3 separate regions of the Homo sapiens genome follow, and all the other regions are linked to region 1. Evidence: promoter capture Hi-C in human tissues and cell types (Jung and others, 2019). All regions are on one chromosome and are shown on one strand. The core of a region is centred on a gene start or on the middle of the fragment in contact, and the rest is flanking DNA. Distances in the headings are between cores, read along the strand shown.

What was found. Contacts are between HindIII fragments. The study calls those that stand out against the background at their distance.
Region 2: a fragment that was not itself captured here is called in contact with the fragment with the promoter of MRO in region 1 in 2 of the 25 tissues and cell types used here (H1 embryonic stem cells and spleen).
Region 3: a fragment that was not itself captured here is called in contact with the fragment with the promoter of MRO in region 1 in 3 of the 25 tissues and cell types used here (lymphoblastoid cells, mesendoderm cells and small bowel).

Annotation. Positions count from the first base shown.
Region 1 is chr18:50,818,466-50,821,572 of GRCh38, forward strand. It overlaps MRO (maestro), which reads right to left and starts at 1,551. Exons shown (of 8, transcript NM_031939.6): 1 at 1,432-1,551; 2 at 1,116-1,237. RefSeq lists enhancers at 1,236-1,869, 1,706-1,755. The HindIII fragment of the contact is 21,582 bases long and covers 1-3,107 here.
Region 2 is chr18:51,128,515-51,131,621 of GRCh38, forward strand. No RefSeq gene overlaps it. Among named protein-coding and RNA genes, the nearest start is that of MEX3C, 68 kb to the right of the region's middle. The HindIII fragment of the contact is 5,752 bases long and covers 1-3,107 here.
Region 3 is chr18:51,109,795-51,112,901 of GRCh38, forward strand. No RefSeq gene overlaps it. Among named protein-coding and RNA genes, the nearest start is that of SMAD4, 81 kb to the left of the region's middle. RefSeq lists enhancers at 1-380, 381-880 and a silencer at 623-732. The HindIII fragment of the contact is 7,166 bases long and covers 1-3,107 here.

The DNA.
Region 1 (3,107 bases), core at 301-2,800:
GCTTGTGTTCATTGCCAGGTTGTGCTCTACCTGATCTTACTGAAGATACATGGATTTGGGGTAACTTAGAAGACTGTTTTATGCTTTACACTGACTCCCATCTGCTTTTGCAAACTTGAATGATTCTGACTCAAAATATTAGATTTTTGGTCAATAATCCTTTTATTTATTGAAGCCAAAAGGTATATTATGAAGGCCAAAATTATAAAACACTTTGATTTTATCTCATCTGTAAAATGAGCAGAAGAAACTGTTAGATTGCTTAAAAATCCTTCCAACACTGAACTTATAAATGACAATAGTAGGCTGCGTGTGGTGGCTCATGCCTATAAATCCCAGCATTTTGGGAGGCTGAGGCAGGCAGATTGCTTGAGGTCAGGAGATCAAGACCAGCCTGAGCAACATGGTGAAACCCCGCCTCTACTAAAAATACAAAAATTAGCCAGACATGGTGGTGCACACCTGTAGTCCCAGCTACTCAGGAGGCTGAGGCAGAAGAATCACTTGAACCCAGGAGACAGAGGTTGCAGTGAGCCGAGATCGGGCCACCGCACCCCAGCTTGGGCAACACAACAAGACCCTGTCTCAAAAAAATGAAAAAAAAAATTAATATTAAAAAAATCGTCTTCATTTTAGAAAAGAAGAAACTGGGCTTAAAGTAATGTTGAACAATTAACTCAAAGTCAAATACTGGCAGAGCAGATTTTAGGACTCTGAAAGATATCCTTTCAGTCACTGTGCTATAAGCCTAGGTTCAGCTCCCAGGCAATGTCCTGTGAGCTGAACGAGGGAAGACAGACCGCATAGACATTTCAGTTTAAAGTGTCAATATCTTCCCTGAGTCCCTGCCATTCTATTATATTGCTGACAATAGAATGATCTATAACCCAACTATTGATCGATTAACATAGTTTGTGAAAAGCAAACAAAATCAGCTTCCTGGTCAACATTGCCCACTTCAGTTTTACAAAGAGAACATTACCAAATCCTACCCCCTAGAGGTCGAGCTCCCATACTGGTGACCAGAGTGACATTCCAGAAAGGTTTTGGGAACCCAAGTGCAGCCAGGACGCCTCCCGCTGCATCTGGCTGCCCCGGCCAACAGTGTCCCTTACCTGCGGCTCCTGCAGGCGGCTGCCACGTGATGAACCGGAGCCCGTTCCTGACTCGGGAGGGCTGCTTTCCCGGGTAGTAGCCAAATGTGATGACTCGGCTAAATTTTCCCAGCCCTGAATTCCTAACATACAAGAAGGGAAATTAGGAGGTGACGCAGGGTCTGTCCAGGATAACGGGTCGGCACAGAGTGTTGGAAAGTGAGAATCAAATAAGAGGGGAAAGTCAAAGTTTATAGAGTATTTGGGCAGGGGAGGGAATTGTTCTGGAATGAAACCGACAAGAATATTGTAGGGTGGCACAAGCATGACTTGCTACCTTTGCTTCCCCACGCCATGCTGAGGTGTTTTTCCTTCTCCTTGCTGTGATTTCCCCTCCTTCTTCCCTCATGCCAGCCTGGTCGACACTTTCTGCAGAAATTCTGCAGATGGCAATTCTGGGGACCTTTCCTCTGCACCAAACAAAACCTCCCTGCCAAGGCCCGTTCCCCATGCGGCCGCGAGATGGCGGCATGACTCAATGGACGGGTTCCAGGCGACCCCTGCACAAAGCCGCCGCCGTGGCTGCCTCCTTCCTTACATAATCCTGTTAGAGCGCATTTAATCTAAGGATGGGACACTGTGTTCCATGCCAAGCAGCCTCATCGTGGCTGATTGTTGCACCAACAACAAGAGCTTTAACCGTTGACGTCCCTTCCTGCTCAAGAAACACCGTATGTCCCGAAAGGAGCGATTTAAGCTCTCAAAATGATTTATTGGTAAAAAGCAAAGCAAAATTAAAACCGGGGAATTACAGCACCTGCAGAATTTAGGAGCCTCTCTCTCTCATCAGCCCTCCTTCCCTGACTCTCCAAACACGTGCATAAATCTATTTAACAATAATTAGTTATCGTCTCGCTCTGCATTGGGTCATAAAGGGAGAAAATATGTCCTGAAAGGAAAAAAGAACAGTTATATTTTCAAAGACAGAGGCACTTATTGTTATGCTAATAGATAACATTCAATTAAAACTTCTGTGTGCCAAATGTTGTGATAAATATTACATAGACTATCTCATTCAATTGTTACATCAAACCAAAGGTTAATACTCCTACTATAGTCTCCATTTTAAGGCTGGAGAAACTGAGGCACAGGGAGATTACCTTGACAAAGGTCATGCAGTTAATTTGTGGCAGTTAAAATTCAGCTACAGGCAGGCTAATGTAAGAGCTTGGACTCAGCCATGATGCTATGCACTGGACTGGTCTAGAAAACCCAGGAGATAAACAGAAAAATATAAACCAGAGAACTATGTCAGAGTGGAAGATGAAAGAAAAAGGCAGAAAGAAAATCGATGCTGCTGAGAAAATAAGAAGAATGAGGCTAAAACACCACCCTCTTCAGATTAAGTTACAAGGGAACCACTGTGACATTTGAGGACACAATTTCAATAGAGTGACAGAGAAAGGAAGCTAGACTGCAAAACTAAGGGGCTATGAGGAAAGAGGAAATTGAGATGTCTTGCTGCAAAAGGAAAGCAATAAATAGACTAGAAGAGACAGCAAGGTCAGGCAAAAGCATTTTGGTTTTCTTGTGTGCTTTTTGAAATGGAATAAAGCCTGGCCTTGTTTGAAAGTGGTTGCAAGGGAGCCCTAATATGTGGCTGGTGCCAAGTAGTGGTAATAGGAAGAGGTGGAGGGGGCATCAAGGGCACGAGGGAAAGGGTTAGCTCTGGAGGAGGAAGAAAGATGGCTGCCTCTGCCTGCAACTGGGAGGCAGCCACAGAGATGAAGATACATCAACACAAAACTGAGAGGAATGGGCGAGTTCAATTCTTCCAAATTAGCTTTAATCTTTTCAGTAAAACCAGAGTTAGGTTATCTGCCAAGAGCGAGAATGAGGTTTATACGGCCATAATCTATATACTGAACTAATCCATGTAGTGCTTAGAATGACCAAAAAGGTAATAAGATTATCCGAAGAACAGAGGAGACTGGAGAAAGGAAGCCCAAAGTA
Region 2 (3,107 bases), core at 260-2,759, 310 kb after region 1:
CTGAGGCAGGAGGATTGCTAAGCCCAGGAATTTGAGGCTGCAATGAGTTACAGTCATGCCGCTGCACTCCAGCCTGGGTGATAGAGTGAGATCCTGTCTCAAAAAAAAAAAAAAAAAAAAGTCCAGGGGAGGATCTGATTGGCTCATGTGTGTCATATGCTCAATATCAAATGCTGGCAAGGATGTGGAGAGGCTGGATCGCTCATCCGTTATTGGTGGGAATATAAAATGGTACTGACACTCAGGAAAACAGTTTGGCAGTTTCTTAAAAAATTAAGCAGACACTTCCCGTATGACTCAACAATGCCATTCCTGGGTATTTATCTCAGAGAAATGGAAGCTTACATCCACATAAAAACCTATACATAAATGTTCATAATAGTTTCATTTGTAATAGTCCCCAAAAAGCCAATCTCAAAACGTCACCTATTGTATGATTCCATTTATATAACATTCTTGAAATGAGAAAATTAAAGGGGGGAGAAGAGATTACGAATTGCTAGTTAGGGATGGTGGGGGTGGGTAGGGTAGCACGCGGGAGATCTTTGTGGGCTGGAATAGTTATCTTGATGGGTGGTGGGTACAGGAAGCTGCACACTGAAGAAATAGCACAGCACTATACACACATTGTATCAATGTCAATTTCCTGGGATGCTGTTGTACTGTACTTGTGTAAGAAGTAACCACTGGGCATAGAGGGGGTGAAGGTTACATGGAACCTCGCTATACTATTTTTGTAACTTGCAATCTATATTTATTTCAAACTAAAAAGTAAACAAATACTGGAGAACACTTAGCCGTGGGGGGAAATTATACCATTCTGTGGGGACTCAGGCAGTGCTAGGTGAATGAACAAATCCCAGTTGCCCTTGGGGAAGGGTGGGACAGCTGCCTCTATTTCTGCCTGTGCACTGAGAGAAGAGGGTCTGTTCTGTTCTCCCATCAATCCCAGTTGCAGCCATAACTGTGCTAAGTGATAAGCTTCAGACTCATCCATCTGGGTCTCGCCCCTCACTCTGAGCTCAGGGTGGAAAGAGAGGCCCATAGTCCCACCTCCAGGTGCATGCGTAATCCCTTGCGTAGGGGAGGAGTCTTAAAGGCACCATTGGCCTTTTGAAATGAGAAAGTTCACCCGGCAAGTGGCTCACGCCTATAGTCCTAGCTACTCAGGAGGCTGAGGCAAAGGATTGCTTGAGGCCAGGAGTTCGAGGCTGCAGTGAGCTATGATTGTGCCACTGCGTTCCAGCCTAGGCAACAGAGGGAGACCTGACTCGAAAAAAAAAAAAAAAAAAAGTTGGTGGAATTTTATTCAGCCAGCCAAAATGAATCCAACATAACAACATAGGAAATACTTCGGATGGTCAGTGAAACAATTAGGAGACAGTTTTATGTGCTCCATGTCTGTACCTATATATAAAATACGAATATCTGGATAAAAACAGGAACAGAATATGTCAAAATGAACACACCGTATCATGCTTTTATGACCGTAGGATTAAGGGTGAGTTTTCGTCTTTTGCTCTTCAAACTCTTCATGAAGTTGCTTGTGGTACTTTTTTTTTAGTTTTTAAATGTATAACTTGAGATGACATTCTTTGTAAACTGTCCCCATCTCCTGGTTCCCAACAACCACACTTTTCTTTCCTTTTTTTTTTGATACTGAGTCTCGCTCTGTCGCCCAGGCTGGAGTGCAGTGGCGTGATCTCGGCTCACTGCAAGCTCCGCCTCCTGGGTTCAAGCAATTCTCCTGCCTCAGCCTCCCAAGTAGCTGGGATTACAGGCGCCTGCCACCACATGTGGCTAATTTTTGTATTTTTTGTAGAGACGGAGTTTCACCTTGTTGGCCAGGCTGGTCTCAAACTCCTGACTTCAGGCGATCCACCCACTTCAGCCTCCCAAAGTGCTGGGATTACAGGCATGAGCCACCATGCCTGGCCATCCTTCCGCATTTTCTTGATGCAAATATAAGCAACTCTGAACTATATATATATATACACACACACATACACATACATATATATACACATACATATATACACACATATATACATACATATATACATACATATATACACATATATACATACATATATACACATATATACATACATATATACACATACATACATACATGTATATACACACATACATACATGTATACACACATACATACATGTATACGCACACATATACATACATGTATACGCACACATATACATACATGTATACGCACACACATACACATACATGTATACGCACACACATACACATACATGTATACGCACACATATACACATACATGTATACGCACACATATATACATACATGTATACGCACACATATATACATACATGTATACGCACACATATACATACATGTATACGCACACACATACATACATGTATACGCACACACATACATACATGTATACGCACACACATACATACATGTATACGCACACACATACATACATGTATACGCACACATATACATACATGTATACGCACACATATACATACATGTATATACACACATACATACATGTATATACACACATACATACATACATGTATATACACACATACATACATGTATATACACACATACATACATACATGTATATACACACATACATACATGTATATACATACATGTATATACATACATATATATACATACATACATGTATATACATACATATATATACATACATGTATATATACATACATGTGTATATACATACATACATGTGTATACATACATACATGTGTATACATACATACATACATGTGTATACATACATACATGTGTATATATACATATATACATACATGTGTATATATACATATATACATACATGTATATATGTATATATATATATATTTTTTGAGACAAGGTCTCACTTTGTTACCCAGTCTGGAGTACAGTGGTGCTACCATGGCTCCATGCATCCTCAATCTCCCAGGCTCAAGTGATCGTTTTGCCTCAGCCTCCAGAGTAGCTGGGACTACAGGCATGTGCAACCACACTTGGCTAAGTTTTTTTTTAAAGTAGATACGGGGGGTCTCACTGTATTTCCCAGGCTGGTCTCAAACTCCTGGGATCAA
Region 3 (3,107 bases), core at 234-2,733, 290 kb after region 1:
GAAAAGTGTACGTAACGATCTTAACGATATGACTGGAGCCTGGAAAGGCATTCCTGAGACCTCGCTACCGAAAGTGAAAGGGACGCATAATGGAAAAGTGTTAAGTCTGGGAGATGTCCGTGGCCTTTGAAGTGGACACGCCGGTCATAAACTTGGCCTAGAGGGACTGTTCAGTGTCCTGTTTGGGGAATGGTGGCCTCCTCCAAGGCTCACCACCGCGGCAGGTGTGGTCCTGGCTCTGCAGGTGAAGGGAGCTCCAGATTCTAGGTGTGGAGCGAGCCCTTTGCGAGGTGACAGCGCGAGGTCCCCTCAATGCACTGGGGAGGCGGATTTTCCCAGCGAGAAGGGGCTAGCAGGAGCTGCGTTTATTGTGAAGGCCCACAGGTAACGGGGCCATGCACCCCAGGGCGAGACTGGAGTTAAAGGTGGGCGGCAGTCCCTGGTATTCAAGGCCACCTAAGACACCCTGGACGGTGGACCCTGGGAAAGAGCCGGGGTGCCCCCGCCCTGGCCAGGGTTTGCCCCTTGTGGGGCGGAGGGAGCTGGGGCAAGCAGCGCTGACGGTAGCCTGGGAACTGGGCCAGGGTCTGCAGGGCGGGCTGGGAGCAGGGCAGGAGGGAGGAGAGGGAAGAGGGCAGTGGGGTCAGAGGGCCCCAGCGCCTGCCCCGGGCTGGGGATACCACGCAGCCGAGTTCCCACGGCCACCACTGGGTGTCGCCCTTGCCCCGCGAAGGGAGCAGGCGCGCGTTTCCCGAGGCGCCTCTGTCCTCCCAGCTCCTCCGGGCTAGATAGACAATGTCCCGGGACCCAGGTGGGCGTAGTGGACCAAGCCCGGAGTCGTCAACCGCAGTCCCTGAGGGGCTGGCCCTGTGCAGAGCCCGAGGCTGGGTGGGCTTGGACCGCTGCCTTCAGAGAGCCCGCCAGGCCCAGCCTTGCCCGGACGCTCCCAGCACCTGGATTCTGCGGAGTCTGGATCTTCACTGTGAGGCTGCCGGGCCCTCCAGGAGACATCCTGTTGTGTCCAGAATTGGTGGGTTCTTGGTCTCACTGACTTCAAGAATGAAGCCGCGGACCCTCGTGGTGAGTGTTACAGTTCTTAAAGGCGGTGTGTCCGGAGTTTGTTCCTTCTGATGTTCGGATGTGTTCGGAGTTTCTTCCTTCTGGTGGGTTCGTGGTCTCGCTGGCTCAGGAATGAAGGTGCAGACCTTCGCAGTGGGTGTTACAGCTCTTAAGATGGCGCATCTGGAGTTGTTCGTTCCTCCCGCTGGAGTTGTTCGTTCCTCCCAGTGGGTTCGTGGTCTCACTGGCTTCAGGAGTGAAGCTGCAGACATTCGTGGTGAGTGTTACAGCTCTTAAAGGCAGTGTGGACCCAAAGAGTGAGCAGTAGCAATATTTATTGCAAAGAGCGAAAGAACAAAGCTTCCACAGTGTGGAAGGGGACCCAAGTGGGTTGCCACTGCTGGCTCAGGCAGCCTGCTTTTATTCTCTTATCTGGCCCTACCCACATCCTGCTGATTGGTCCATTTTACAGAGAGCTGATTGGTTTGTTTTACAGAGAGCTGATTGGTCCGTTTTGACAGGGTGCTGATTGGCGCGTTTACAATCCCTGGGCTAGACACAAAAGTTCTCGGTGTCTCCACTAGATTAGCTAGATACAGAGTGTCAACTGGTGTGTTTACAAACCCTGAGCTAGACACAGAGTGCTGATTGGTGCATTTACAAACTGTGAGCTAGATACAGAGTGCCGATTGGTGCATTCACAATCCCTTAGCTAGACATAAAGGTTCTCCAAGTCCCCACCAGATTAACTAGATACAGAGTGCCAACTGGTGCCTTCACAAACCCTGAGCTAGACACAGGGTGCTGATTGGTGTGTTTACAAACCTTGAGCTAGATACAGAGTGCTGATTGGTGTATTTAGAATCCCCTAGCTAGACATAAAGGTTCTCTAAGTCCCTACCAGACTCAGGAGCCCAGCTGGCTTCACCCAGTGGATCCCGCACCGGGGCCGCAGGTGGAGCTGCCTGCCAGTCCTGCGCCATGCGCCTGCACTCCTCAGCCCTTGGGCGGTCAATGGGACCAGGGGCCGTGGAGCAGGGGGCAGCACTCGTCTGGGAGGCTTGGGCCATGCAGGAGCCCACGGTGGCGGGGCGGGGGAAGGCTCAGGTATGGCAGGCTGCAGGTTCTGAACCCTGCCCCGCAGGGAGGCAGCTAAGGCCTGGTGAGAAATCGAGCACAGCAGCTGCTGGCCCAGGTGCTAAGCCCCTCACTGCCCAGGGCCAGCAGGGCTGGCTGGCCGCTCCGAGCATGGGCCCCCCAAGCCCACACCCACCCGGAACTTGCGCTGGCCTGCAAGCACTGTGCACAGCCCTGGTTCCCACCCGTGCCTCTCCATCCACACCTCCCCGCAAGCTGAGGGAGCTGGCTCTGGCCTCGGCCAGCCCAGGAAGGGGCTCCCACAGTGCAGCAGTGGGTTGAAGGGCTCCTCAAGTGCCACCAGAGTGGGTGCCCAGGCAGAGGAGGCTCCGAGAGCGAGCGAGGTCTGCGAGGGCTGCCAGCATGCTGTCACCTCTCAATCCCCCCTCTAAACAGGACACCCCAACTGCTGTTGGGAATTTGGCCGATGACCGCTCTAGCTACTTCCTGCTGGATAGGGGCAAAGAAGGGGCCCTGCAGTTGTAGTGTCCTCCAGAGGGGAACTCTCTAGGCCAGTGGAAGTGCCAGTGGGTTGGTCCATGGGTCCTTGGTAGAAGTTGTTAGTTGAACTCATTTGGAGTTCCATTTGTAAGACCATCTGTAGCTTGATGGCCTCAATTCTAGAGGAAACAAATTTGACAAGAAGGTTAAAAATACAAGGCCTGAAGGCGAGTAACAGCAAGATGGCTGCCACGGGACCTAGAAAGGGGAGAAGCCATGTTGCCCAAAGGTTGGTATAAGAGTTTGAAAGGCGTCTGATTTCAGAAGCCTTTTCTTGTAAACGCCGGGCGGCAAATCGTACTATCCCTGACTGGTTAGTGTAAAAACAACACTCTTCCCCTAAGAAGGTGCAGAGTCCTCCTTTTTCAGCAGTGAAGAAGTCTAGGCCTCAGCGGTTTTGGAGAGTCACT